Regions from separate parts of the Homo sapiens genome. Here all the other regions are linked to region 1. The links are contacts of gene promoters, found by promoter capture Hi-C in blood cells and fetal thymus (Javierre and others, 2016). All regions are on one chromosome and are shown on one strand. The core of a region is centred on a gene start or on the middle of the fragment in contact, and the rest is flanking DNA. Distances in the headings are between cores, read along the strand shown. Region 1 holds the start of PRM2 (protamine 2). Region 2 overlaps CLEC16A (C-type lectin domain containing 16A). Region 3 overlaps CLEC16A (C-type lectin domain containing 16A). Region 4 overlaps CLEC16A (C-type lectin domain containing 16A). Region 5 overlaps CLEC16A (C-type lectin domain containing 16A).

What was found. Contacts are between HindIII fragments. The CHiCAGO score rates a contact against its expected background, and 5 or more counts as called.
Region 2: a fragment that was not itself captured here is called in contact with the fragment with the promoter of PRM2 in region 1 in 5 of 17 cell types (activated CD4 T cells, total CD4 T cells, naive CD8 T cells and 2 more); the score reaches 13.3 in activated CD4 T cells.
Region 3: a fragment that was not itself captured here is called in contact with the fragment with the promoter of PRM2 in region 1 in 9 of 17 cell types (activated CD4 T cells, erythroblasts, naive CD4 T cells and 6 more); the score reaches 13.9 in activated CD4 T cells.
Region 4: a fragment that was not itself captured here is called in contact with the fragment with the promoter of PRM2 in region 1 in 1 of 17 cell types (activated CD4 T cells); the score reaches 9.0 in activated CD4 T cells.
Region 5: a contact is called between a fragment that was not itself captured here and the fragment with the promoter of PRM2 in region 1, in 2 of 17 cell types (total CD8 T cells and activated CD4 T cells). The highest score is 5.7, in total CD8 T cells.

Annotation. Positions count from the first base shown.
Region 1 is chr16:11,273,608-11,279,421 of GRCh38, forward strand. PRM2 (protamine 2) reads right to left here and starts at 2,873. Exons shown (of 2, transcript NM_002762.4): 1 at 2,493-2,873; 2 at 2,032-2,330. The coding sequence starts at 2,763. The coding sequence ends at 2,293. All of the region lies in intron 1 of LOC105371082 (a long non-coding RNA gene), which reads left to right. PRM3 (protamine 3) reads right to left here and starts at 22. Exons shown (of 1, transcript NM_021247.3): 1 at 1-22. It also overlaps the pseudogene LOC124900380. The HindIII fragment of the contact is 881 bases long and covers 2,290-3,170 here.
Region 2 is chr16:11,031,536-11,037,349 of GRCh38, forward strand. All of the region lies in intron 13 of CLEC16A (C-type lectin domain containing 16A), which reads left to right. Among named protein-coding and RNA genes, the nearest start is that of CLEC16A, 90 kb to the left of the region's middle. The HindIII fragment of the contact is 349 bases long and covers 2,607-2,955 here.
Region 3 is chr16:11,047,382-11,053,195 of GRCh38, forward strand. It overlaps CLEC16A (C-type lectin domain containing 16A), which reads left to right. Exons shown (of 24, transcript NM_015226.3): 18 at 4,132-4,260. Among named protein-coding and RNA genes, the nearest start is that of CLEC16A, 110 kb to the left of the region's middle. RefSeq lists enhancers at 2,951-3,527, 3,528-4,105, 5,118-5,267. The HindIII fragment of the contact is 733 bases long and covers 3,131-3,863 here.
Region 4 is chr16:11,068,142-11,073,955 of GRCh38, forward strand. The region is part of intron 19 of CLEC16A (C-type lectin domain containing 16A); the gene reads left to right. Among named protein-coding and RNA genes, the nearest start is that of CLEC16A, 130 kb to the left of the region's middle. The HindIII fragment of the contact is 6,568 bases long and covers 1-5,694 here.
Region 5 is chr16:11,086,994-11,092,807 of GRCh38, forward strand. All of the region lies in intron 19 of CLEC16A (C-type lectin domain containing 16A), which reads left to right. Among named protein-coding and RNA genes, the nearest start is that of CLEC16A, 150 kb to the left of the region's middle. RefSeq lists an enhancer at 4,419-4,508. The HindIII fragment of the contact is 1,092 bases long and covers 1,551-2,642 here.

The DNA.
Region 1 (5,814 bases), core at 1,623-4,122:
CTGTCTCTCTGGGCAAGGAGGTGAGGCGGTGGGTGAAGGGGCTGCGAGTGGGGGCAGGATGCTGACATCACAAAGGGAGCCCATCCCCACTTGGGAACCTGGGTCTGAGCCAACAGTTAACTCACACCTCAGCCACTGGCAGCTCCCAGCCCCCACAGGGGAGGTCTGCAAGGCTGAGCACTGGGGCCAGTTCGGATGCCACACCATAGTCCTCATTTGCCCTGGAGAAAGTTTCCCTTGTAGCTGGGATGGGAGTTAGGGATTGAATTTCTAGAAGCAGGAGGGGCACACACAGACTCCTCCCCACATCCCAGAAATCGCCAGCCAGAGAGAGCTGTCTCTGTTGAGTTTCTTGACTGTTAACCCTTGGAAATAAATCATCAAGCTGTGTGCTTAAAATGTATGCACTCTGTAAGCTCATAAAACTCAGGAACCCTTGGAAGTCTTCCTTCGGGGGCCTGAAAGTGTGAAATCTTCTTGAAAGGCAATGGCTCCTAAGCATTGTTTGTTTGTCCAAGGCATGGGAACAGGCCAGAAACCAAGCTGGGATGAACAAGGGGTTGCTTTGTCCCTGACTGATGCAAGATGGACACCACCAACCAGAGGCCACTCTACCCAGGTCAGGGTGGAGTGACATCCTCTTAAGTGTTTTGGGGCCACAGAGAAGACATCATGGAGCTGCCCCTTGGCAAGGTTCCACATCTGTGCAGCACAATTTCAGCATGGGGGGAGGGGGTTTAGGACTTTGTCTTTTATACATTGAAATGAGTCGTTTGTACACTGCAATGGTATTTTTTAAATATAAATTTTTTGAGGCCAGGCGTGGTGGCTCACACCTGTAATCCCAGCACTTTGGGAGGCGAGGCAGGCAGATCATCTGAGGTCAGAAGTTCGAGACCAGCCTGGCCAACATCGTGAAACCATGTCTTTACTAAAAATACCAAAAAAAAAAAAAAAAAAAAATTTGTTTAGCTCCTTCAGCTACTCAGGAGGTTAGGGAGGAGAATCAGTTGAACATAGGAGGTGCAGGTTGCAGTGAGCCAAGATCGCACCACTGCACACCGCCCCAGTGACAAGAGCGAAACTCCGTCTGTTTTTTTTTTTGTTGTTGTTGTTTTGTTTTCAGAAACTCGTTGCTTCCTAAAGATTGGTCATTTCTGAGCACCAGAAATCCATTTGCCAACATATGGATTGGATCTTGCCAGTCTTATCCCCCCAGTCCTCAGTGGCTATGGTTGGCTAAGGTTGGCACTCTCCGAAGTGCCCCCTTCCTGATCCTGGAATCTATGATGTAAGGATTGTGAGATGGGGAGGTTATCTTGGGTTGTCCAGAAAGTCCCTCAGTGCAATCACAAGGGTCCTTGATTTCAGACAGGAGGGAGGAGTGATGCAGCCACAGGCCGAGGAGAGCAGGCAACAAGGATCGGATTCTGCCTGGGTCTCCAGAGGCTTCAGCCAGCACAGGCCTCACACAGCGCAGCCCATTACTCTGCATTCATCTACTCCTTGCCTTTTGCCGTCTCTGTGCTGACCAAGTTGTTGCTGGAGCATGCCAGACCTGTTTCCCACCTCGAAGCTGTGGCCTGCACTGAGCAGTGCCCCCACCTCTGCCCCCACCGTTTACACTTCCAACCACCCAACACTCAAGATGGGTTGTGTTTTTAAACTGTGGCACACAGTAGGCATTTAAATATGGCCACAAGGTGCCTTGGCATCTTTGTGACTTAATTAGGACTCGATCTGTTCTAACCATTTTCTCCTTTCATGAGGTAGGATCAGGTTCTTCACTGGAGGGGGATCCAGACAGACTAATGTGGCCTTTGACACCATGGAAGGATGCACAATAGACAGGACAGCATCATAGGGTGGCCTCCCAGGCACAGTAACCCTCTCCTAGGTGTCCTGAGAGCATCAGAACTCCCGCCCTACCTGCCTCTGAGGAAGGGCTGCAGAGAAGCCTCTACCCGCCCTGGGCGTGAGGGAAGCCAGGTTTGTGTGATTCGTGCAAAGAAAACCCGACAGGCCAGCGAGTGTCTTGTCAAGCTTTATTGGGCAGGTGACTTTTGCTCGTTTCACTCAGATCTTGTGGGCTTCTCGGCGGCAACTCAGGGCTTGAGCATTTGATGTAGGGGAGTTGCTATGGCCTCACTCGGTGTTTCTTGGGCAGGTGACTTTCTCTTAACTTCCAGCTGGGGGCTTGAGCATTTGATGTAGGGGAATTGCTATGGCCTCACTTGGTGTTTCGGGCGACTTTTTCTTAATTTCCAGCTGGGGGTGAGGGGCCCAGGAAGCTTAGTGCCTTCTGCATGTTCTCTTCCTGGTTCTGCAGCCTTTTGGGAAAGAAAGTTCTGGTTGAGGGGGTCACCTAGGGACTCTGGGTGGGGACGGGGGTTAGGGGGCTGGAGCTTTTGTCAGGTGGGGTGGGTCCCCGCCTCCCTCCTGTGCCTGGGGTGGTCAGGGACATGCAGGGCAAGGCGGGGGCGCAGGCAGACCTCTGCGATGCCTCCTCCGGTGCCTGCAGGAGCGTCTTTTGCGCCTTCTGCAGGAGCGATGCTGCCGCCTGTGGATCCGGTGCAGCCTCCTTCGAGAGCAGTGTCTGCGCCTATAGTGAGACTGGCCATGGGTCCTCTCGTAGACCTCGACGTGCTCCGGGCTCAGCCCTTGCTCCTCTTGGCCGTGGTGTCCTTGCTCTTGCCCATGCAACTGCTGCCTGTACACCTCGTGCGAGCGTTCGCTCAGGCTCCTCACGCGGTATCGGACCATGGTGTTGGGAGATCTGGTGGCTCCTGGGCTGAGGCTGCAGTGGGCCCTGGAGTAGGGGAGGAGGGCGGAGGCCTGCCCACCTGCCCTTGGTGTTACTGTTGGTCTGGTCTGCAAGGCTCCCCGGGAGCTTGTATATAAAGGGGGCGCCCACTATGACTCTGCGGCCCCGCCCAGTCCCCACCCTGCCCAGCCTCCTCTGTGAGGGCAGCACAGGGCCAGGGGTCACAACTAGCAGGGCCCTGGCACCCAAGCTGCAGGGCTGGAAGGGCGAGAGACCCCCTTGCCTTGCCTGTAAAGCATGTCCTCTGTCTCTTGCAGTAGGTGAACCATACAGATGGCAGGTGTTTTATTGCCTAATCCAAGCCCTCATCTCCCCAAGCCGGTGGGTGCGCACATTGTCATTTGGAAGCTTCCTTGCCAACTCACTGCTGTGCCACAGCCACCATGTGGAAGGGACTTCCGTGCTTGGATCTCTGTGCACACAGCTTACTGTTAAGATGGCAACAGCAGCAAACAGTTCCCTAATAGCTCCTATGTGCCAAGCATTGATTCATTTATTTCCCATACATTCACTCATTCTCTCTCTCTCTCTCTCTCTCTCTCTCTCTCCTCTTTTTGTTTTGAGGCACTGTCTGTCGCCCAGGCTGGAGTGCAGTTGTGCAATCATGGATCATAGCAGCCTCTACCCCTCCAGCTCAGATGATCCTGCCACCTCAGCCTCCCGAGTAGCTGGGACTATAGGCGTGTGCTGCCACTCCCAGCTAATTTTTTGTATTTTTTGTGGAGATAGATAGGGTTTCACCATGTTGCCCTGGCTGGTCTCACACTCCTGGCCTCAGTGAGCCTCCCATGTCGGCCTCCCAGAGTGCTGGGATTACAGGTGTGAGCCACCACCCTTGCATTCCTCACTCTTACAATCCTCATTTTCTGTGGGGCAAACAGGCATGAAGAAGTTGAGTTGCTCAAGGCCACTCTGCTGAGAAGGCCAGGCCGGGCCAGCATTCAGACGGAGACAGCCTGGTTTTAGTCATACCCTTGGCTCTCCACCTCCTCCCTAGCCCAGGGAATGCTCCCCTCTCCGCCTCCAAAATATTCATCTTCTCCCCTCCCGCTCGGCCTTGCCGGGGCTTCTCATTGAACTTTGATGATCCCATTAAAGTCCGGGATCAGAATCACAGAAACTGCAAAACCAGTTTCCCTTTCATGGAGGGCAGGGAGAATGTGGGAATGTGGCAGATACACAAATTTAAGGACTTGAAGATGCAGAGATCATCCCAGATGATCTGGGTTGGCCCAGTGCAGTCACGAGGGTCCTTAGAAGAGAGAATAGGGAGGCAGGAGGGTCACAGGAAGAGAAACTGGGAGACACCACACTGCTGGCTTTGAAGATGGAGGGAGAGGCTATAAGCCAAGGGATGCAGGCGGCCTCTAGAAGCTGGGATGGACAAGGAAATGGGTTATCCTCCCCTCGTGCATCCAGGAGGAACACAGCCCTGCTGACCCCTTGATTTTAGCCCCATGAGACTTCTTTCAGAATTCTGACCTGCAGACCTGTAAGATAATGCATTTATGTTGTTTAAAGCTACAAAATTTGTGATGATCTGTCACAGTGGCAATAAGAAACAAATTCAGGAGGCTTAATCTTCAGATCCTTACAGGAGGTGATGGGTGATATTGCCATGCCCTTGGTGTTTCTATGCTGCCTCTCTTTAGGGATAAGAAGGTCCTTTATGATGGCCCTCAAGCTCTTCGAGGGCGCGTGTTAAAAATATGAATGCTGAGGCCTTACCCTACGTCCCGCTAAGTCAAATCTCCATGGCCAAAGCTTGCAGATGAAAATAAGAAGGGGCGGGGCAGGGCTCGGTGGCTCACACCTGTAATCGTAGCACTTTGGGAGGCTGAGGCGGGTGGATCACCTGAGGTCAGAAGTTCAAGACCAGCCTAGTCAACATGGTGAAACCCTGTCTCTACTAAATATACAAAAATTAGCCGGGAGTGGTGGCGGGCGCCTGTAATCCCAGCTACTCAGGAGGCTGAGGCAGGAGAATTGCTTGAACCCAGGAGGCAGAGGTTGCAGTGAGCTGAGATGGCACCATTGCGCTCCAGCCTCGGCAACAAGGGCGAAACTTCGTCTAAAAAAATAAAATAAAATAAAATAAACATAGGAAGGGGCTGGGTGTGGTGGCTCACACCTGTAATCCCAGCACTTTGAGAGGCCGAGGTGGGAAGATCACTTGAGCCCAGGAGTTTGAGACCACCCTGGGCAACATAGTGAGGGCTCTGTCTACAAAAAATAAAAAAAATAGCCTGGGTCCATGGTGGCATGTGCCTGTAGTTCCTGCTACTCAGGAGGCTGAGATGGGAGGATTGCTTGAGCACAGATCAAGGCTGCAGTGAGCCACGTTCACACCACTGCACTCCAGCCTGGGTGACAGAGCAAGACCCTTATCTCAAAAAAAAAAAAAAAAAAGGCACACCCAGGGGTCTGCCTGTCCAGCCAAGCTGCTATCATGATCCGAGTGTGTTATGGGGAGTCATTGCTAAAGTGATCAGGGTCATGGTAGTGCCAGGGCTAGCACTGAACTCTCATGTGCTCACTTGAAAGAACATGGTTGTTGATACCCACCGTAGGTGAGTGCAGTGGCTCATGCCTGTAATCACAGCACTCTGGGAGGCCAAGGCAGGAGAATCGCTTGAGCCCAGGAGTTTGAGACCAGCCTGGGCAACATAGTGAGACCTCGTCTCTACAAAAAAATTAGAAAAATTAGCCAGGCAAGGTGGTGCATGTCTGTGGTCCCAGCTACTCAGGAGTCCAGGAGGCTGAGGTAAGGAAATCACTTGAGCTCAGGAGATTGAGGCTGCAGTGAACTGTGTTTGCGCTACTGCACTCTATTCTAGCCTGGGTGACAGAAAGAGACCTTGTCTCAAAAAAAAAAAAAAAAGGAAGTGATGTATGCAGAATACCAGGCACACAGTTGGTGTCCCATAAACAGAAGTCATACTGTGACATTTCTGAGGTGCTTGGTGGGCCCTGTCACTTCAGGGAACTGG
Region 2 (5,814 bases), core at 1,531-4,030, 240 kb before region 1:
AATTGAATTCCTTCTCCCATTTTCTGCTAATGCTATGCATGTATTGATTCATTCATTCTTCCAACAAATATTTTGGAAGCCCCTGTTAGATGCCAGGCACTGGGATCAGTATTGGGGATGCAGTGGTGAAGCAAACAAATGCTTTCATGGAATCTGGATTCTCTTAGAGGAGACAGACAGTAAACTAGTAACCAAGTAAAATAATCCCATGTAGCGAGAAGTGCAACAGTGAAAATAAAACTAGGTAATGCGGTGGGGCAGGCTGAGGGTAGAGGGTACTACATCCGCCTGAGCAATCAGGAGAGGCCTCTTGGAGGCTTAAGTGATCAGGAGGAATAGCTTGCAGTTTCTGATGAATTTCCTCATGTAATTAGTTATTCAGCAAATGCATGTGGAGCACCGGCCGTGTGCCAGGCAGTGTGCTCAACATGGGGACTACAAACTCCAGGCAGACCAACCCAGGCCCTTGCCCAAGAAAGCATCAGTCATTCTTGGACAGAAAAGTCCTACGAGGAGGCTGTCAGCACAATAGAGGGTCACTTGCCTGGTGGTGAGCATGGACTCTGCCCGCAGGAGTGAGGACCCGTTTCCTGAGGACACCCGGGCTATGGTAGAGGACAGAGCAAGAAGGGGCATGAGAGCCTGTGGCATATCCATCAGATCACTGCCCGTTCCCTAGGGTGAGTGGCAGCATGTCCGAGGCAGCGGGTGCCCCAAGAGGCAGGCATCTGGAGCCAGTCTGCAGGGGGTGGCACAGGCAGCGACTGAACTGTGTTCCTATGAGCCGTGTGGGGCTGCTGGGGGGCAGTTGGTCAGTTAGTGAGCTGACCCACTCTGCACCTCTCAGAATGGGTTTGCAGTAATTCAGCCAGCGGGTGGGAGGGATGAGAGGTGAAACTGAGAGGCTTTCTTATCATTCAGCAGATACTTGCTGAGCGCTTGCCAGGGCAAGGCCCCGTCATAGGCACTCAAACAAGCCCAGATGAGTCTCACTGAAGTGAACAAGAAGATTAATTGTGACTGTGACAAATGGTAGAAGGAAATGAACAGGGTGGAGTGATGAGGAAGCCTAGTGGTTGTGCTGCAGGGGTTACTAGGTGCTAGTCAGGGTGGTCGGGGAGGGCTCCTCTGAGGAAGGACCAGCAGAGCCACAGCCCAGAGAGTGAGAAGGAGCCAGCTCTGCAAAGACCTGGGGCAAGAGTCCTCCAGGTGAAGGGAGCAGCATGTACAGAGGCCCCGGGGTGGGAAGGAGCAGAAAGTGGGCCAAGGTGAGGCTGGCCAGGCGGGCAGGGGCCAGGTCATGAAGGGCCTTGAAGGCCCTGAAGAGGAATTGCCATTTTTTCTCCAAGTGCAATGGGAAACCCCTACCGAATTTTTAAGTAGGACAGTGATGTGGTCAGATGGAAGTTTTTAAAAGAAACGTTGGCTACCAGACAGAAAGTAGATGACTGGGGGTGGGGATGAGTTGCAGGAGGGAACACCGAGAGACTTGCTAAGAAGCTGTTGCAGTCATCCAGGCGAGATAATGTGGATTGGATTAGGCTGCTGGCTGGGGAGTAGAGGAAACTGGAAGGACTTGTGATTATTTCAGCGCTAGAGCCAGGACGTGCTGATGGATTGAATGTAGGGGTCGAGTGAAAGGGACGAGTCAGATGACTCCTGTGATTTGGCTTGAGCAATGGTGGGGGTGCATTTACTAGGATGAGGAGACAAGGAGAGTCACTAGGCTAGGGGTGAGGGGTTCTGGTTGATTTGAAAGGAGGGGGCATGAAGGGAGGAGCCTGGGTAAGGCTCAGGTTCCTGACTCCTTTCCCTGTGTGACCAATAGTGCCATTTCCAGAACTAACAAGCATGGGCCTTGGAGTAGGTTTGGAGAAGAAACGGAAAAGTTCAAGTCCGGTGCCCTGAGGCCCAGGTGCCTGGGGAAGCTGCCTCGTGGGGGAGCTGCCACCTGGTTTATGCTCAGTCCTGGCCTGTGAGCACAGAGTCTGCATTTGGTGGGGCTTTGCTGGTGGAGGTTGGTTGAGTGATTGGTTTTTGGTTATGCAGCAGCTGATCAGGCTGCACTTGACCTTCAGCCTCACTTTTCCAGATCCTTACCCCCCAAATCAGGTCCCAAGTGACCTGGTCTCTTTCTCATAGATTTTTTCCTCATAGTCAATTTTAACATAAAAGCCACGTTCATAAAAACCAAATGTGAGCTCAGGCCTTCCAGTAATCATAATAGATTAGATGCTGCACCGAAATGAATATCCCACAGTGGAAAGGGTTGACCGGTTGGCGGAAGGCGCTTGTTGTGATTCAGTTGGGCCACATAATGAATTCTGGTTTGTTTCTGTAATAGAAAATGCAGCCTTCGCTCTTCTATCAAGTCCGCTGAGTCCTGGGCCAGAGGTGGAGGGATGGGGGTGAGTTTTACAGCTTTTGTATCTTGAAGGTTCCCCAGTTCAGTGACCAACCTTCTACTCCTGCCACTCCATTTGTCATTGTTTACCCAGGAAGAAGGAGTCTTGGGCTCTTTGTGTTTTGTGTTTTGTTTTGCTGAGAAGTTAATGGAACATGGATGAGCGATATGGAAAAGGTTGAAAGGTAATAGGCTAAAGGGAAGCTTTTGCCATGCGGAGAACTTGCACAACGTCAGTTTGGATCTTGGCTGACACATAACCAGAATTAGAAGTACATTGGAAATCGGCCCAACATCTGGTTAGCTTTCGAAATCTTTGGTCTATAGTCTTCCAAAGCTGGTAATACTTGTGTGACTGCAGCCAAGGAGACTTTGTGTGGTCAACAGACGTTTTTAAAAAGTTTGAACTGTTTACCTGGTGTTCTCGTGGTGTCTTTATCCAGATCTGTCTAATTATTCTTATGCATCTTTGGTCTGGGTCTTTTACCTCTCTACCCTAAATGGGGGCTACTACTAAGGGGGAAGAATCCAGATATCAGAACTGAGAGGGAAGCTTAGTAAGAGTTACTGACACTGTGGGGCCACACCCTTCCCTTCTGTTTTGGATTCTTTGAATGAGTTAGTTGAGAGTTCCGCCCTCCACCCCTGTCCACGGGTGGACAGGGGACACCCGTTCTGAGTCGGTGGGCAGCTCAGGCTCTGACCCCTAAGGCAGGGCTGTGGGCGGGGCAGGGAACATGTGGTCTGCTGGAAGCCAGAATGAGCTAGTGCTCCCGTGAAGTGCAGCAGGGTTTCTTTGGAATTTGTCTGTCACAAAGCACTTAAGAGTTGAAGCAAATAGGATAATATATTATCCACAGTGTTTATTTCTGTCAGAGGGAAATGACTGGCAAAGAAGCTATTGGGTTTGCAGCAAAACCTGCCTTTCTGTGACCAAAAACCACGGGGTATGCATGCGTGTGTGAATGAGTGTCTGTGTGTGTATGAGTGTGTGTGTGTGTTTGTGTGTATGTCCTTGCACACAGGAGCCGTCTTACCTTTCACATGCATGCCCCTGTTACAGGGTGACATTGACCTTAGCCACTCAGAACCATCAGCCACCAGGTTGTTTCAGGCAGGAGGCTTAAACCTAAATCTAATGTTCGCCACAAATTAAATGCCATCCTAAGTACAGTGATGGTCATGCAATGATTGTTATAGAAAACAAAAATGAGAATAAGTTGCTTTTTCACTTGCCTTTGATAGTACCACCTTAAAATAACCAACTGCTGACAGTGTCGTATTTCTTTCTAGCATGTTTTCTGTGTGGGTGATGGTTGGGCTTTTTTGCACAGCTGTCATATGGTGGCTTCTATTTTACGTATGTTTCCCCTTCATTTTGAGATTTGTCTAATCTTCTGCCCGAAATTTGATCAAAACTACTTAACTTTTTAAAAAATTAATTCAGCAAAAATGTATGGACTGTTGTGTTTGTGCCAAGAACACCACTAGATCACATGACATACATAGCTTGGGAAGGTGGAGGGAAAGAGCGTTAACCAGCGGGGATCATGGTACACGGCAGAGAGGAGGGAGGTAAGAGCCACATGGCTGCATTCAGGGCTGGGCTTTCCACTCTCCACATGACCCCAGGCAAGCTCATGTCTTTTTTGAGCCTCAGCTTCCTCGTCTATAAAATGGAAATACTATTAGCCACTTCATGGAATGTCATGAGGATGAAATGAAGCATTCTACGTCATATGCCTGGCTGATGGTCACCATTTCTTCAGAGCTTACCATGCGAAGGCAATCTTGTCATCTTAGCAGAATCCTCTCCTCCTTCCTTCCAAAGACACTCTGTCCTTCCCCAGAGAGACTGGTGATTTTGTTGTTGTTTGTTTGTTTTGACTGAGTATTTTGGTAAATGATAAGGCCTCCTTCAAAACACTGGATAGTTGGAGTCAAAGAGAGGATTTTAAAGGCCATGGTGGGAAAAAGAGCTGGGAGAGAGAATGGGGCCCCTGGCCCAGAAGGAGCTTTGGGGAAAGAAGGGAGATGTTCAGAGGGGTTTCTGTTATATAGTTTTGCCGTGTGCTGTGTGGAATCACCTCTGCTCTCTGCCTCCCAGGGCTGGTGGTAAAATCTACCTCACATGGACTGCATGGCACTAGCAGGTCAGTTTGGGGTAAAGGGCCGGAAGCATGGAGACCACTTGGAACAGTCAGGGGAATGGAACCACCCCAGTCAGCCAGGGCACAACCAGATTATGTTACGGCCCGCTAGCTGCCTCTCCTGGGCCCCTCCACTGCATCACCCTCCAGGATCCTGGCACGAAGCCTTGCCTGTCCCTTCCCCCATCCTCCACCTCATCACCCCCTCCCCGGCTCTCTCCCACCCAGACCTCTCTGGGTCTGCTCCACTCCCTGCAGTCCCACCTTGGTTTGGCAAGTCCTGGCCCTCCCTGTCCAGTTCAAGGCAAACTCCTGTTCATCCTTTAGGATCCAACCTGAGCAGCTCGCCCCCTGAGAGGGGCCCCCAGCAGCTCAGCATGCCTCTTTTGGGCTGTCTGTAGCTTGATTTAGCTCTTGTTAGGTTTTATCCTTGTGTTCTTTTGTTCTAATTTTCCTTTTTTTTTTTTTTTTTTTTTTGAGACAAGAGTCTCGCTCTGTCACCCAGGCTGGACTGCAGTGGCGCAGTCTCAGCCCACTGCAACCTCCGCCTCCTGGGTTCAAGCAATTCTCATTTCTGAGCCTCTCAAGTAGCTGGTACTACAGGCATGTGCACTACACCCAGCTAATTTTTGTATTTTTAGTAGAGACGGGGTTTCACCACATTGGCCAGGCTGATCTCAAACTCCTGACCTCAGGCGATCTGCCCACCTTGGCCTCCCAAAGTGCTGGTATTAAAAACATGAGCCACCGTGCCCGGCCTAACTTTCCTTTTATAACACGAATGATAAGGAAACACATGAAGTCATGCTCAAACTAAAAATTCTCATCCATGCATTAAGCAGTGCTCAAACTAAAAATTCCCATTTGTGCATAATAATGAGAGATAAAGTTGTTGGCCTGTGACAGTGCTTTTTCTCTTTCGATCCTGACAGCAGTCGTGGGGCGGGTAGTTACCATAATTATTCCCACTTCACAGGTGAGGAAACTGAGGTTCAAAGAGGTAAAGTATCAAAACAAAGTTCCTCCCGCACCCCACCGCTAGGCTTCTCATTCCTGCTGTACCCAGCTGTCCCCCTAAGAGAGGGTGAGCCCAGGGACACAGAGGGGTGGCTTTTGTCAGCCCAAGAGGACGGGCCCCCTGTGTGCTCCTGGTGGGCTGGCTGTGTGGGTGCTGCCACCCTTTCCCATTTGGACCCCACCCACCTTCGGGATCACCTGAAAGTGGTTTGAGCTGTGTCTCTGACTTGCTCTGTGACCTTG
Region 3 (5,814 bases), core at 2,247-4,746, 230 kb before region 1:
CTGTGTCCCTGCCAAGCTCCCCCTGCCCATCCCAGAGGGAGTTTTTTGACTTAGGGCTTTGTGACCAAATAGCACAGATTGATGGGGAAGCAGATTTAGAATGGTGTCTTGTGATCCCCACCACTGTTAAAATTTCAGACTATATTCTCTCCCTCTAACATGGGAGGTGTCCGATGAATCAGGATGATTCTCTGCTATGAATAGTAATTTTGGGGACAGTATCATTTTATTGAGGACTTACTCTGTGCTGGATGTATATAGCATGCTGTACAGATTATATCTCTTCATCCTCACACCAACCAACGGTAATAGCTACTGCCATTGTCCCTTTCTTGCTGAATTAGTCTCTTCTCATACTGCTACGCAGAAATACCCAAGACTGGGTAATTTATAAAGAAAAGAGGTTTAATTGACTCACAGTTCCACATTGCCGGAGAGGCCTCAGGAAACTTACGATCATGGTGGAAGGCACCTCTTCACAGGGTGACAGGAGAGAGAATTAGTGCAAGGAGAAAAGATGCCAGATGCTTAGAAAACCATCAGATTTCATGAGAACTTACTCACTATCATGAGAACAGTATAAGGGAAACTGCTCCCATGATTCAGTTACCGGCACATGGTTCTGCCCTTGACACGTGGGGATTCTCATGTGTCTCACCATTCAAGGTGCGATTTGGGTGAGGACACAGAGCCAAACCATATCACTTGCTAATGAGGAAACTGAGTCAGAGAGGTCTAGTGATGTACCCAAGTCTGCCCGGCCGGTGAGTGGCAGAGCCACGCTTCTAGAGGAGGACAGCCCAGCCCCGCATCCCCCGTGCTTCTCCATGTATTATGTCCCTGCCTCCCTGTTTGCTGCTCCACTGGAATGTTTCAGCATGCAGCTCTCCCTCCAGTCTGTAGTGCCAGCACATGGGCTTCCTTCCTCCTCCCGCAGGCAGAATCGCGGGAAGCCATAGGTTCAGAAGATCCCAGCTTTCTCTGCTTTGCGCGTTTGTCTCTGTTATCCCAGCACCTGCCCTTGGCTAGGTACTCCATAAGTACGTGATAAGTGATCCTTCTTGTGGATATTACCCACCAAAGCATGTGTGATTTGGGAAGTTTATAATAAACCTAAGTGTTTTAAGTGTCAAAAAGAAAAAGGCAGCGTGCACTAATTGGCTCCTTGGCTTCGCAGCCCATTCCCTAGGAATCGGGACAGCTGGGCCCTCACCACGTCCTTTGTCACTGCATGTCTGAGGCTGCCGTGGAGCCTTTTCAGGGGAAAGGTGTAAATTGGCATAAGTCATCTCCAGAAACACCCCAGCAGCACCCTGTGCCAGGCCCCCGTGGGCTGCTCATCTACAGCCCCTCATCATTCCTCCAGCCCCTTCGAGAGAGGCTCAGTCTTCCACCCTTCAGACCATTCATTAGAGTGGAAGGGATTCAGTTGTCATTTGTTATTTCCTCTTACCCCCGAGACATCCCCCTGCAATGTCATTTCCTACAGTTTGGTTTCCTGTTTGGAAATGTCAGGCTTCTATGGCACTTGACCATGTGGGAAAGCTTGAGCTCTTAAACCCCTGCTCAGTGTCTGCTTTTGACAATGCAACCTTGAGTGCATTGCTGAAATTCTGAGCCTTGATTTTTTTCTTTTTTTTTTTCGAACAGAGTTTTGCTCTGTCGCCCAGGCTGGAGTGCAAGTAGTGCGTTCTCGGCTCACTGCAACCTCTGCCTCTTGGGTTCAAGCAATTCTCCTGCCTCAGCCTCCCGAGTAGCTGGGATTACAGGCGCCCACTACTACGCCCAGCTAATTTTTGTATTTTTAGTAGAGACGGGGTTTCACCATGCTGGCCAGGCTGGTCTCAAACCCCTGACCTCGTGATCCGCCCGCCTTGGCCTCCCAAAGTGGTGGAATTACAGGCGTGAGCCACCGCACCTGGCAATTTTTTTTTTTAAATCCGTAAGGTGGGGGATCCCTACCTCATAGCCACCCAGGCTGTATATGAAATAGCCAACAAGAGGCCTCATGGGTCCATACACAACAACAAATACTCATGGGTCTATACACAACAAATACTTCCTCCCCCTCCCACCATGGGGAGCTTCCCAGGTTTTTTTGTTTGTTTGTTTGTTTGTTTGTTTTAATCAAACATGTATTGTGTGTCCTATACAATGCCTGGCATTCCAGAGAAATACAAAGGTGCCACGCCCTTGCTCTGTATCTGAAAATCAGTCCTCAGCCTTCAGGAATGCAGCTTCTGAGTGGAAGGGGGTGGGGACAGGCCCTCCAAGGCCAGCTGCTGTACCAAAGTCAGACCATGACTTGTGACCTTTCCTTCATTTCCCTTATTGCCTCTGGTTTAATGCAAAAGGTTCAGTGAGGTGATGGCCTAGCTCTGCCCCCAGCAGGCCTGAGGGGTTCACTGGGAAGGTTGTAGGGGGCAGCAGGAGTAGAGGGGAAGGGAGCTGCAAGTGAATGAGTGAGGCAGGAACTGCCACCCCTGCGGGGTTAGAGGATTTGGAGTGGGGGACCTCAGGCTTCTGGAGGAAAGTACTTAAAGTGTCCAAAAGAAGAAGGCAAGCAGCATGCACCAAGTGGCTCCTTGGCCCTCTGGCCCATTCACCGGGTGTCTCAGTATGTTTTCTGCAGCTATAACAGAATACCACAGACTTAATTTATAAAAAAAAGAAATTTCTTACAGTTCTAGAGGCTGGGAAGTCCAATATCAGGTGCCAGCATTTGGCGACGGCCTTCTTGCCACATCATCCCATGGTAGAATGCGAAAGGGCAAGACAGAGCAAGAGGGAACAGAACTCACTCTTATAACAAAGTCACTCTCACCATCATTGAGCCACACCTGCAATAACAACATTACTCCATTCATGAGACCCAATCCCGTCTTGTTAGGCCCTACCTCTCAGCACTGTCACACTGGGGATTAAGTTTCCAACACATGAACTATGGGGGACACGTTCAAACCATAGCACCAGGTATCTGGGCCACTGAGCCCTCGCTACATCCCTGCCCTATGTAGTCAGCTTTACCTAGCAGGAGGGGGAAAGTGGTATGTTTGAAGCCCACTTTCTGAAAAGAGAAGACACAAGGAAAGCTTGTGATGTTTGAAAGAGTAAAATGAATTCTGCAGAAAGCTTACCCTTCGTCTGTGAAGCCAGGGAAATGAAATGTTAGTGTTCAACAACACGTGTGCATTGATTACTACTACTGATGCAGCAGAGATCTGGGAGAGGTGGCAGGGAGGGGATGTCACCCTGTGTCTTAGTCCTCAAAGAAGGCTTCGCAGAGGTGGTGTGGAAAGAGGCCGTCAGCTCTGGCCCAGTGGCCGTGGGCATGCGCCTTTCCTCCTCTGAGCTCAGTGTCCCTTTTATGATGGGCCCACCAGCACCTGCCGTCCAGCAGGAGGTGATCCCAGCACGTGCCTGGCACTTAGTAGATGCTCCAATAATGATTGTGTTATATTATCCCAGGTAAGATGTGAAGGGGACAAGGAAGGAAGGGGAAACATTGGTCCTAGGGTGGGAATCACAGAGGCCCTGGAGCAAGACAGGCCTGGGCTCATGTCTTGGCTCTGCCACCCACCAGCTGAGCGACCTTGGATCCATTTTTCTGCTTCTCTGAGACTGTGTTCCCTCATCAGCAAAGTGGGAAGCAGCTCCTCAAAAGCCCTTAGGTCACAGCTTGCAGCGGAATCAGCTCTCGTTAAACGGAAGCTGCCATCGCCATAGCTGTTATCATCACTGGAAGGACAGAGAGGAGGAAGCAGGTGGCAGACGGGCTTGCACCCACAGGGATAAAGCATACCTGGCCTCCTGCTGAGAATCCCTGTCCCTGCTGAGGTGGAGAGAGAATGCGAAGAGGAGCAAGCTTTTCACAGCAAGGATGCAACTTCTCAAGAGTCTGAGCTGCTGCTTCAATTAAAGGAAAAATCTGCAATTTAGAAAACCAAAAGGCATATTGCTCCCTTATCTGGCTGCCTCTGTGCTTTACTTCAATCTAAATCCAGGATTTAGATCACTCATTTACATTTACTAAATGCGGTTGAAGGCGAGGGGCCTGTGCAACCTCCCCCGGCCCCTTCCTCCTTCCAAGTAAGGAATCTGCTTTGAGGTTTCCTGTAATGTCTCTTCTAGATGAAGCCCATGAACGTGGAATATCTCATGATGGACGCCTCCATCCTGCTGCCCCCAACAGGCACGCCACTGACGGGCATTGACTTCGTGAAGCGGCTGCCGTGTGGCGATGTGGAGAAGACCCGGCGGGTGAGTGAGCACAGGACCTGTCATCTCCTGGGCCACTGTTCTCCAGAACCACTCCCAGACCAGGGAGGAAAGGGCTTCTTTGTCAAAGTCAAGAGCCTGCCCTCAACACAGCTTAGACAGTGGATAGAGAGTACCCATTTGCCCCCAGGCATGACTTTCCAAGGCATGTTTTTACCCTTTGGGAAGTAGGGTTTGGCATTCCGTTGCATCTGGCACCCAGTGTTGGCTGCAGAGAGGTAGCCTTCACCAGTGCAGACAGACAAGCCCTGAGCTCAGGAGTGTAAGGCAATGGGGCCAGTTTTCTGTGAACCATCGGGGGTGAGCACGGTACATCCAGTGCAGGTGAGGTTGGTGTGAAATCGTAGCCCAGCGGTCTCAGGACCCCCAGAGATAGTGCGATGTTAAGGCATCTACCTGCTCTTGGGACACAGTCAAATTAAATGTGAATCTCACCAGCCTGCAGGACAGATATGTGTGAAAAGATTAGTTCTCAGAACCAGCTGCAGTGTGTGCTTCCGTTATCAGCCCTTTTTTTCCGAAGCAGGTACTCTAGGAAGCAGTGTCCTCAGGGGTGTTCATGGTATTTTATCTCCCGGGTAAGATCAGAGTTTCTTTCTTAGAAAGCACCATCACCTTTTCCTAGAAAATCATTCACTGGAGACATGAGTATTTGTGTATAGTTCAGAGGAATTCATTGCACACAGCTCCCCTTGTCAGCCTTTATCATCTGAGTTAATTCGTGTGTGACAGAGGTGTTTCACTTTTGGATTTTGCAAAACAGGAATGACCTGTCATTTGCACCTCAGACACGAGGAGTCTGAACCTTCCTCCCTGCAGCTGGTGGTTCTACCTCGGAAGCCTGGGGGTGCAGAGGAAGTGGGACCCATGTGTCTTGAGTCAATCCACATTTCCAACTGTCTGACCAAACCCACAAGCCTCACCGCAGGACCCACCCTGTCCGGCCCACTGACGCCTTCCTTCCATGTCCTCCCTGCCAGGCACACGATTCTGTTTGTGGGTGGCAGTGTTTGCACTGGACGTCCTGGCATCAGCTTTCACTGGAGGACTGGTTCTGACAGATGTGTATGTGTTGCTTCATGATGCTGACGTGCTCACCCCCAGCCAGGGCTACAGCATCCTGTGCCAAGAAGGCCCCACCTGGGAGATCCCCCCGCACCCCTGAGCCAGAAGGTCCAGAGGACTGAACGCTGAGCACTGCTGCTCTGGATTCCACTTTGCCTTTTTGTTGTTGTTGTTGTTGTTGTTGTTTTGGAGGCTGCAGTGAGCTGTGATCCATCCTGGAGTGCAGTGTTGCGATCATAGCTCACTGCAGCCTCAAACTCCTGGGCTCCAGCCATCCTCCCACCTCAGCGTCGGTAGCTGGAACTACAGGCACAAGCTACCACACCTAGCTAATTTTTAGATGTTTTATAGAGATGAAGTCTTGCTAAGTTACCCAAGTTAGCCTTGAACTCCTGGCCTCAAGCCATCCTCCTGCCTTGGCCTCCCAAAGTGCTGAAATTACAGACATGTACCACCACACCCAGCCCACAC
Region 4 (5,814 bases), core at 1,161-3,660, 210 kb before region 1:
TTTGGACAAATCTATTCCCCTCTCTGTGCTTTAGTTCCCTCATTGATCAAATGAGAACAGCGATGCCCAACTTTGCAGGGTTATTGTAAGGCAGAACAATAAGGTGGATATAGAGGTTGCAAACAGCTGGTCCTCAGGCAGGTGGGCCCACAAATGTAGCTTCATGGCTAGTAAAGCATTTGCAAGCGAATTTTATGTTGCTAATGTTTTAAAATCAGGATATTTTATCGTAAAAACCTAGCTATCACCTTGAATATGAGACAGTGACAGTCTGTCCACGCAGAGCCTGCATCCCCACAGGCAGCAGTCAGTTGCTCCTCTTCATGGGAGTGAACCCTTCTCCCAGCTGCTAGAGTCTCTGCTGAACTCCAGACCTGTGTACTCAGCTACCTGCCCAACATTTCTTGGTTACCACAAACACAAGATGTGAGCTTTCCCACAAAACCTGTCTCCCTGCAGGCTTCCAGACAGTTGATGGCAGTTCCATGCTGGTGGCAAAAACCACAGGCTCATCCCTGACTCCCCTCTTTCTCTCAAGCTCAACTTCCAGTTGGTCAGCAGACCTATTCAGCCTCTGCCGCAAAATACAGTCAGCCCTATGTGTCCTCAGGTTCTGCATCTGAAGATTCAACCAACCACAGATTGAAAACATTTCTATTTTTATTTAATTTTTAAAATTTATTTATTTTTTGAGACAGAGTCTCGCTCTTTCATCTAGGCTGGAGTGCAGAGGCACAATCTCGGCTCGCTGCAAGCTCCACCTCCCAGATTCAAGCAATTCTCATGTGTCAGCCTCCCGAGTAGCTGGGATTACAGGTGCATGCCATCACGCCTGGCTAATTTTCTTTTTTTTTTTTTTTTTTGTATTTTTAGTAGACATGGGGTTACACCATGTTGGCCATGCTGGTCTCAAACTCCTGGCCTCAAATAGTCCGCCTGCCTTGGTATCCCAAAGTGCTGGGATTACAGGCATGAGCCATTGTGCCTGGCCATTTATTTATTTTGAGACAGGGTTTCACTCTGTTGCCCAGGATGAAGTACAGTGGTATAATCACGGCTCAGTGCAGCCCCAACTTCCCAGGCTAGGGTGATTCTCCCACCTCAGCTTCCCAAATAACTGGGACTACAGGCATGCACCACCACACCCGGCTGAGATTTTGTATATTTTGTAGAGACAGGGTTTCACTATGTTGCCCAGGCTGGTCTCAAACTCCTCTGCTCAAGCAATCCACCCACCTTGGCCTCCCAAAGTATTGGGATTATAGGCATGAGTCACTGTGTCTGGCCTATTATTATTACTATTTTTTTTTTTATACAAGGTCTCGCTCTGTCGTCCAAGCTGGAATACAATGGTGCAATCATAGCTCATTGCCGCCTCCAACTCCCAGGCTCAAGCAATCCTACTGCTGCCTCAGCCTCCTGAGTAACTGAGATCACAGTTTCGTGCCACCATGTCCAGCTGATTTTTTTTTTAATCTTTTGTAGAGACAGGGTCTCACTATGTTGCCCAGGCTGGTCTCAAGTTCCTGAGCTTAAGCGATCCTCCCGCCTCAGCTTCCCAAAGTGCCAGGATTATAGGCATGAGCCACCATACCCAGACTGAAAATATTTTTAAAAAACAACAACAAAAAAATACAACCATGCAAAATGAGCAGATTTTAAAAACAGTACAGCATAACAACTATTTACATAGCCATCTCATTGTATGAGTTATTATAAGTAATCTAGAGATGGTTTAAAGTGTGTGGTAGGATGTGCATAGGTTATATGCAAATACGACACCATTTTATATGAAGGACTTGAGCATCTGTGGATTCTGGTGTCCTCTGAGGGGTTCTGGAACCAGTCCCCATGGATATGGAGGGACGACTGTATTGTCAGGATGTTACCTTCTCTCCCAGCTTCTCCCAGCACCTTGTTTGAACTGCCACCATTTTTTTTTTTTTTGAGACGGAGTCTCACCCTATTGCCCAGGCTGGAGTGCAGTGGCGCAATCTCCACTCACTGCAAGCTCCGCCTCCCGGGTTCACACCATTCTCCTGCCTCAGCCTCCCGAGTAGCTGGGACTACAGGCGCGTGCCACCACGCCCAGCTAATTTTTTTGTATTTTTAGTAGAGACAGGGTTTCACTGTGTAGCCAGGATGGTCACGATCTCCTGACCTCGTGATCCGCCCGCCTCGGCCTCCCAAAGTGTTGAGATTACAGGCGTGAGCCACTGCACCCGGCCTTTTTTTTTTTTTTTAAGCTAGAGATGGGATCTCACTATGTTGCCCAGGCTGGTCTCAAACTCCTGTGCTCAAGCATTCCTCTTATCTTGGCCTCCCAAGGTGCTGGGATTACATTCATGAGCCATTGCACCCAGCTGTGCCATTATCTTTTACCTGAATTATTGCAGTAGTCTCTTGCCCAGTCACTTGCTTCTGTTTTGTCCCCTAGAGTTTATTCTCAGCAGCATGAACTGTCTTCCTTTTAAACGAGAAGCCAGATCATGTTCTTCATTTGTTCAAAGTGGGCTCCCATGCCAGTCTGAATAAAAAACAGAGACCTTTACCCCTGAGGCTTATTATGTGACACCACCTCCCTGTCTCTGCCTCCTTGCTCTTCTTCAAACACACCTGGCATGTACCCACCTCAGAGTCTTTGCTCTGACTGTGCCTTCTTACCAACCCCAACCTGCAAACCATTTGTTCCCTAGCACAAGTACACTGGAGGGCACCACGAGGCCCATGAAAGCTCACACACGAAAACCGTACCCCAAATTCTTGCTCCATGTTTGAAATCCTGACCACATCGCCCTGTTTGTTTATTCTTCATTTGCGGATTAATGTGAATATCATAAAGATTCTGCAGGATCCAACTTCCTAGCATTCTGCGTGCTTCGCCCCAGCTTCTTTGCAGACAAGAGCTTTTAGGCAGAGTGGAAGTCCCTGGCTATTTTCATCGGATTGCCTGGAGATTCGTTTCCAGCAAAAGTATTATGAAGCTCCCCAAGCAAGTATGTGGTTTGACTGTCAGTCTGTGAAAATGTGAGCTCATTGATTTCTTTCTCTTGTAAAACCAGTACTAGTTTTGTGGTCCTGTCAGTTCTGGAAAATTCTCTGTGTTGGCTTATTTTGCTGATGACCCAGGCATTGTCATGTGCCTCTCATCCTAGTGAAAATGAGTGGCATAAATGAGAAAGACAATGAAAAACAAATCCAGAATACGGAACATTCTAGAAGACAGCCGACCTGAGTTTTTCAAGAATGTAAATGTTGTGGAAGACCAAAAAAGAGGGGGACGAAGGTAGAGGGGTACTGTTTCTAGATAATTGAAACAAAGTGACATGACAGTTGTCAGCCTGGATTGATCTTAGATTGAGGGGGAAAAGTAGCCTTAAAGGACATTTTTCTGCAAACTGAAGACATTTGCATATGGATTGTGATTGAGTAATATAATTGAGGTCAATATTACGTTTCTTTTTTTTTTTTTTTTTTAAGAGATGGGATCTTGCTGTGTTACCCAGGCTGGAGTGCAGTATTGCAACCTGAAACTCCTGGGCTGAAGTGATCATCCCACCTTAGCCTCTTGACTAGCTGGGACTACAGATGTGCACCACCACACCTGGCTGATTTTTTTTTTTTTTTTTTTTTTTTTTAAGATGAGGTTTCGCTGTGTTGCCCAGGCTGGTCTTGAACCCCTGGGCTCAAGCAGTCCTACTTCAGCCTCCTAAGTAGCTGGGACTACAGGCAGAACCCCTGGCCTGGCTAATATTATCTTTCTTGAGTGTGATAATGCCATTGTGGTTCTGTGGGAGTATGTTCTTGTTCTTAGGAAGTATGGGCTGAAGTGTGTAGGGGTAAAGTGTCTGATGCCTATAATGTTGGACTGATTCAGAAGATAAAACTGTGTGTGTGTGCGGGTATAATGAGAGAGCAGACAAATGCAGCCCACTGTCAACAAGTGATGAATCAAGGTGAAGGGTACATGTTTGTCTGTTACACTGTTGTTTCTTTTTGAGACGGGATCTCGTTCTGTCCCCCAGGCTAGAGTGCAGTGGCACAGTCTTGGCTCACTGCAGCCTCGAACTCCTGGCCTCAAGCGATCCTCCCACCTCAGCCTGTAGTATCTGGGACTACTGGCACGTGCCACCATGCCTGCCTATTTTTTTATTTTTTGTGGAGATGGGGTCTCTCTATGTTGCCCAGGCTGGTCTCCAACTCCTGGCCTCAAGTGATCCTCCTGCTTCGGCTTCCCAATGTACTGGGATTACAGGTGTGAGCTACCACAGCTGGCCTATTCTATTCTTTAAACTTTTATGAGAATTTGAAAATCTTCAAAATAAAAAGGAAGGGACGAGAGAGAGAGAGATAATCCAGTCCTTGAAAATCCAACATTTAATAGATGGGGAGTATAATGTTTAGGAACTGGAGCCCCAGATTTAGAAAAGCCTGGGTTTTAACTCCTGCTGTGTGACCTTGGACAAATTAGTTAACCTCTCTGAGCCTTTCTTCCTCATCTGTAAAGTGGGTCTAATAGTGCCTACCTCAGGACTGTTCTGTTGATTAAAAGAGAAAAGTCCATCAGAAATACTCAGCATCACACTAAGTGTACACAAGTGTTTGTGATAGAAACAGTCATTACAATTCTTCCTCTTGACTGCATATTGGGCACTGAAATATGTCTGTTCTCTTTGGAGGGTTCTTTGTCGGAATCCTAACAAAGCACAGCCTCGTGACTGCTTCTGTCCAGGGGACACATTGAAAAGCAGAGGAGGTAACACAGGCTTGTTAACTAGATAATAAGGTTCTTGGAAAGATGACTTTCAGGAAAGTGGGTGCCGTCTGATTGAAGAGCTGAAACCACAGGATGGGGTGGGAACTTGAATCAGACCCAGATGGCTCCTTGGGGGCAATTTAGTTCAAGCATCCAGGCATGGGCCCTGGAGAAGCGGTTTGCTTAGTGCTGACTCTGAAGTGGACTAATGTTAACATGAAACCCAAGAGGCAAGTATGTACATGGCATTCAAAGAGTTGGATTGCAAGGCGAGTGTGGTTTTGTGGCACTTTGGCCTGTTCTCTGCCCCCACCCCCGGGGTCCCGTGTTTTTGTCTTTAAAGGAAGCACAGTCCTCAGTCCTCATGGGGTCGCTCCACAGGTAGACATTTAATGGAGCAGCTGCTCATCACCCGACCTGCTGACTTGGAATCACTCCCAACCCTCCTCCAACCTCACGATCGGGGGATCATCAGCTCCCTGGACTCCACAGCTCTGCCCCATCCCTGGTCTGGCCTCTCCACACCTCTCCCCTGCCCAGTATCTCCCCCATTCTACCCCAGCCCATGGCCTTGCGCCACGCTGCTTCATCCATCCTGATGCCCAGTATGTAAAAGGCGCCTAACCCGCCATCATGTCCCTGCTTGTAAACTCTCAGATCCTCGCAGTGCAGCGGCCCAAGCTACCCACGACACTCCTCTTCTCCCATATGTCTTGCTGCATCTGCCCACACAGTGCCCAGGCTGCTCACAGGCTCCTGGACACAGCCTGCCTGCCCTTGTCGCCCCTGCCTGGATGGCCCTCCCAGCCTCCTTCCTCCTGCTCCACGTGCCTTGTGCACATTTCAGATGTGCGCTTACCGCTCTGTATATCCCTAGGGCCTGGCACAGGGCCTGGCACATAGTAGACACTCAAGGCTTCTTGGATTGAACTGATTAAAGCTTTAGCAGTCACTGTAATTATTCATAAACACTGAAGGACTTTCATTAACATAGAAATAGCATTTCCAAATCTCATCTTGAGTAATTTCAGGCAGTTGGATTGTGAGTTAGAAAAATG
Region 5 (5,814 bases), core at 847-3,346, 190 kb before region 1:
TTACTTAGTAATTTTCTTTGAATGTACTCACAATTTATCCCTGTCAGGGCAAGATGGAGTAAGTTAAGCTAGTCCAAACCTAAACCCGTGAAATCAGGAGATCCATAAACTAAATATGTATTTTCTCACAACATCTGAAGCTAAATAGAGGTTGAGATAAAATTAGAAACCATTCACGTAGGTGCCATCTAAAACCATCTTAGGTCCCTGTCCCCACCCCCATCCCCCACCTGCTGCCCCCTATAGTCTGCACACAAGGTGGACTTGTTAAGGCTCCCCTGGGACCCCTGCCTGCCCACAGAGCCTCACCTGGACCCGGTCCCAAGAGCCAGGCCCACTCTCACGTCCAGGAGGAAGCCCTGCCTCCCCAGGTGTTAGGCTGGACTTTTCGTCCTACAGCACAGGGAGAGTGAAGCAGTTAACAAACCACATTTAATATGCAGTATTGTAATTTTAAATTTGTGGAACAAACCTAAACTACTACTTGTTTTTTTATGCTACCTATAGATATTAAATGTGGACAGATTTTGCTTGGCAGACCATTGGTTTAGAAGGCTGGGTTAAGCCCTGTGTTTGAGTAAAAGTAGTATTCAAGTAAAAGTGGGATTCAACCCCAGGTTCTTTTTGGCCTCAGGCAAGGAAGTTCTATATCTGCCTCACCAACACTTCTTCCAGGAGGGTGGAGAATCAGATATGAATTATTTCTCACAATCACCAGGAATGGCTGCAGCTCTGCTGGACAGATTCTGCATCTGTTCCCAAGCTCATCGGTCAGCTTTTACATGGGTACACCGAGGCCCAGAGAGGAGGACGGGGCTTGCCCAGGTCGCTGGCCAGGTCACTGTGCTGCTTCCACACAAGGTGGCTGGGAGGGGAGGCCTACCCAGTTTGAGGCAGGAAGTGTCTGAGAAGCTGGTCAGAGCTCCCCCGCTGTGCAGCCGCCCTGGGCTCCTCCACCTGGGAGCTCTTGGGACAAGTCTGAGAGCCTTTGAAGCCTCTGCAGCCTGAGAGTTTCAGAGCTCTTGCTACCTTCAGATCCTCTTTCCATACAGAACACCCTGTTAGAGCTTTCTCTCAGCTGGGGGCTCTCTGTCTCGAAAGGGGCCTCTGTGCTGACAGCCCCAGTCCCTCAGTGCGGATCACACATGTGGCCTTGCCCTGTGCCAGGTGCTTGACTGGGCCCTTGCTGAATCAGATGAAAGAAATCCTCTGGAATCCTCCTGCACTTCTGCAGCAGCTAACAACTTTGTTTCATGCTTTTGAGGCCAGAGGCTCTGAGAGGTCACATGACCAGCCCAAGCATCCACAGCTAGGACTCCACAGAACCAGCTCATCCTTGCCAGGTGGGAGGCAGTCTGTCCCACACCAGGGTATCTGAAATGTTTCTGCTTCAGGTGCTGTGGCTGATGCTTCCGGGCCATTATCTGTGTACCATCTTCAGCTGGGTGTGGGTGAAAGCCTCGTTGGGGATGGGCCCAGAAAGACCTTGGTGTATTTCTCACACCCAAAGAAGGCCGCCAAGGAAGGCCCATGGCGACCCCTGGGTAGGAAGCTTGGTGCTCTCAGGGAGTGGGATTTGTGCCATCTGGTGCACAGCCTCGGGCAGGAAGTGCACCAGGCCCCCAGCCACGCGCGGAGAGCTTCTCCAGAGAGGGCTGTGATGTGCGGCTAGAGGCAGTGCTTGGCACCCCTGCTCCTTTCACAGGACCCAGAAGTTTGCCAGATCAAAACCTTAGCATTGGCTGGAAAATTGGCTTACTTATTGCCATCTGTACCCATCACTTACCCATGGAGTGGGCGCCGTCCTGGGCTGAGTCGGGTGGGGGTCCTGCCGTTGAGTTAGTAATTTCGGGTTTTCCTTTTGTTGTTTAAAGGCATACTTGTTAGGCTACCAAGTAATATAGAAACATATTCACATTGTAAAAGGCTCAAACAGTGCAGTTTGTAGAGTAAAAAGTGAAAGTGCCCTGCCATTTCCCCAGCCACCCACAGTACCCCCTTTCCCCCCAGGCCACCTGCTTCTCCAGCAGGAACTCCCAGCCTCCGTTCAGGGGAGGGGGAGGGTGTCCTTCTGGACCAAGCTCTTCGCACCTGCACACATACGTATTCCTCTGGGTGGATAGCCTCGGGCTGTCTTGTTCACCACGGTCACTCCAGCCCAGCCACAGGCCTGGCACTTAGTAGACACCCACTAAATTTTTACTAAATGAATGACAGTAGCAGTAGTTTTTACATGAATGGGACCATGGACATCTTGTTCTGCACTTGGTTTTGGCACTTTAAAGTGGGGTTTTCCTGCGTCGGGACATCAGGGTATGAGGGTGGGCTTATCTGCCGTCATTGCATTAAATGGAAGCACCCGAGGGACCATCCCTTGTGCATCACCCTTGTTGATATGCATTGGCTGTGTCCAATTGTCCATGTTACAGAACGCTGAGGGGTCAGCCTTTTAGCAACTCAGTTCACAAACACAGCACTTTGTCAGGAGGCAGTCCTAGCTGTGAAATTGCTCAAATTGCCCTCCATAAAAGAAGCTGCCCATCAAACCTCCTGCCAACAGCGCAGGGAAATGCCTGTTCCTCCCCTCTGTCCCACACTGGCCCCTGTTGGTCTTTGTCATCTGTGCCAGCATGACGAGCAGAAGCTTACCCATCTGCTGAGCATGTCCACCTGGTCGCCTGGTCACCTGGTCAGAAGTGGCTATGGGAATTCTTCCCATATATCCCAGGTGGCCAGGGAAGGGCCCGACTCAGGAAATGGCATCTGTAAGAATGATAGGGCAGCCTACTGAGGGGTGCTGGGCATGACTCGCAGCATGGGCTGGCCCACCCAGCCACCGCCAGGCACCGGTCCAAACCAGTCAACCCTGTGCTCTGCTCCGTTTTTTCCATCCCTGCCTTTGCTCATCAATGAGGTGCCAGAAAAGGCTTCCAGCGGTTGGAATTCCTGCCTCCTTCATGTGTGTTTGGAGGCCACACAGCTGTGTTCTCTCAAACCTCCACCATCCTTTACACTCAGAATATCTGTTTAGACATTCCTAACTCTGCTTGGTCGTTGTTTATTTTAAAATAGTCCCAGAAATACGCTTGCTTATTTAGTTCTCCACCAAACACTCCATTGCGTAGAATCATGCGTCCCCTGCATTCTGGTTCCCTGGAAGAACCGCAGAAGGGGGACCTGCCTCATACGACCAGGCTGCGTCAGTCATGGGAGTGAGCTGTCAGACATTCACTTTTTTAAAAAATAGAAACAGGGACTCGCTATGTTGCCCAGTCTGGTCTCGAACTCTGGACCTCAAGTGTGGTCAGAATTTCACTTTGAAATTCTTGGGTTGAAGAAGAGCTTAAGAATGGGCTGTTACTTTCCTGTGTTTGTGGATTCATGGAATGATTCTTAGGGGCCATTGTCAGGAAAGGGACCATGGACAACCCAGCTGGAGTTCTTCCATACCAGATGTCCTCAGGCAGCGGAGTGATGTTGATGGCTGTCTGCAGCATTGCCGGGGAGCCTGTGTGTGAAGCCTTCACAGTGGACCACTTTCCTATTACATTTCTCCGCAACTCCCCGCTTACCTAACATCCTGCCTGGAGGTCCAGAGAATCTACAGTCCAGTGTTTTAGGAGGCTCTCTGGATTTTTGTTTCTATTTTATTTTATTTAGTTAGTTTTTGAGAGAGAGTCTCGCTCTGTTGTTCAGGCTGGAGTGCAGTGGTGTGATCTTGGCTCACTGCAACCTCTCCCTCCCTGGTTCAAGTGATTCTCCTGCCTCAGCCTCCCAAGTAGCTGGGATTACAGGCATGCGCTACCATACCCAGCTAATTTTTTTTTTTTTTTTTTTTTTTTTTTGGTATTTTTAGTAGAGAGAGGGTTTCTTGCCTTGTTGGCCAGGCTCGTCTTGAACTCCTGACCTCAAGTAATCCACCCACCTCAGCCTCCCAAAGTGCTGGGATTACAGGCATGAGCCACGGTGCCCAGCCTATTTTAATTTTTTGAGATGAGGTCTCACTACGTTGCCCAGGCTAGTCTTAAACTTCTGGGCTCAAGCACCCCGCCCACCTTGGCCTCCCAAGGTGTTGGGATTACAGGCGTGAGCCACCAAGCCTAGCCAGGATTTTGCCTTTAAAGCGCCTAATCTCCTTTCTCCATAAAGACGTGAGGTAAGCAGTTTTCCCTCCTGTGTTTATATCTCCCCCAACTCACACCATGAGCTGCTTCTATTAAAAGACACAGGAGATGGATAACTGGTGTTGAAAATGATATCACTTATTTCAAAGGGTAAAAGGGAAGTTGTGTGTGGCTTTCAGTAAAAGCTCACAGGCCTATTCAGTATCGGCCACTTGATGAAGAAGCCTTACTTTGTGGTGGATGCCCCCGGGTCTGGCCCCAGTGGCGCCTGAGAGGCAGCAGGTAGAGGCAAGAGCATGCTCTGAAGGCTGTGATTCACCTCGTAGGGCGGGTGGGGCTGTGTGCCCTGGCAGCCTTCTGCACCTACTGAGTCTCAGGCCTCCCCCACCTCTGCAGGGCTGTCCTGAGGGGCTGGCACTGCACAGGGAAGGGCGCTGGCTCGGAGATGGGTAGAGTTAGTGGGTAAATGGGTACTCCGCAGAGTCTGACCGCCAGCATTCAAGCTACCTCTGCTGCTTGCCAACCAGGTGACCTCAGCACATGGCTTAACCTGAGCCTCAGGTTTCCTTCATCTGAAAAATGAGGAAAATTGTCAGGAAAGCTTTGAGCACGATGCCTGAAACACAGCAGGCCTCTGATAGGTGTAAGCTCAAGTTCCATGACTCAGGCTGCAGATGATCTGCTAGGCTTTCTGGTAACCCACGGGTAGCTGAACTTGATGCCTGAGCTCCCCCTCGTAAGTTACCCCACTTTTCTTTGCAGGAAAGGTGTGCTTAAGTAACAGGTACTCAGCAGGGGTGTTCTGACACCCTGGGACTGCCATGGGTTTGCTTCCTCAGAAGGCTTCCCCGTCGGCTGCCCTCTCTCACTGTAGGGTCTGCTTGGACTCAGTGTGCAGAAGCCCTCCATTATCGACAGAAAACAAGCTCCTTAAAAACACACTTAGGCCAAGCACAGTGGCTCACGCCTGTAATTTATCCAGCACTTTGGGAGGCAGGTGGACAGATCACTTGAGGTCAGGAGTTCGAGACCAGCCTGGGCAACATGGCAAAACTCCATCTCTACAAAAACGAAAAACTAGCCACGTGTGGTGGTATGCACCTGTAGTCCAAGCTGCTTGGGAAGCTGAGGTGGGAGGATCGCTTGAGCCCAGCAGGTCAAGACTGAAGTGAGCCAAGATCACACCACTGCACTCCAGTCTGGGCGATAGAGTAAGACCTGTCTCAAAAAACAAACAAAAACAAACACACACACACACACACACACACACACACACACACACACATGCCAGGTGTGGTGGTGGGAGCCTGTAGTCCCAGCTACTTGGGAGGCTGAGGCGGGAGGATCACAGCCTCCCGGGAGGTTCCCGTGAGCCAAGATCATACCACTGCACTCCAGCCTGGCTCTGTCTCAAAAACAAAAACACACACAAACACAAAAAAGCCCATGCTTAAACCAATCCCTGGCTTGCAGGCATTTCCAGCATTTCCTTGAACGTTTTTGCAAATACAGATTTGAACATAACTGATTTCAGTTCCTGTCCCCAAAACTTTTGGTTCCTTCCTTCCTTTTGTTCGTGGCACAATGGTGAGAGTAGGTGCTCTGGAGTCAGAATCTATCAGGGTTTGAGGACTGGGTCTGTCGTCTATGAGCTGTATGACTTCGGCCGAGCTTCTGAAACTCTGTGGGC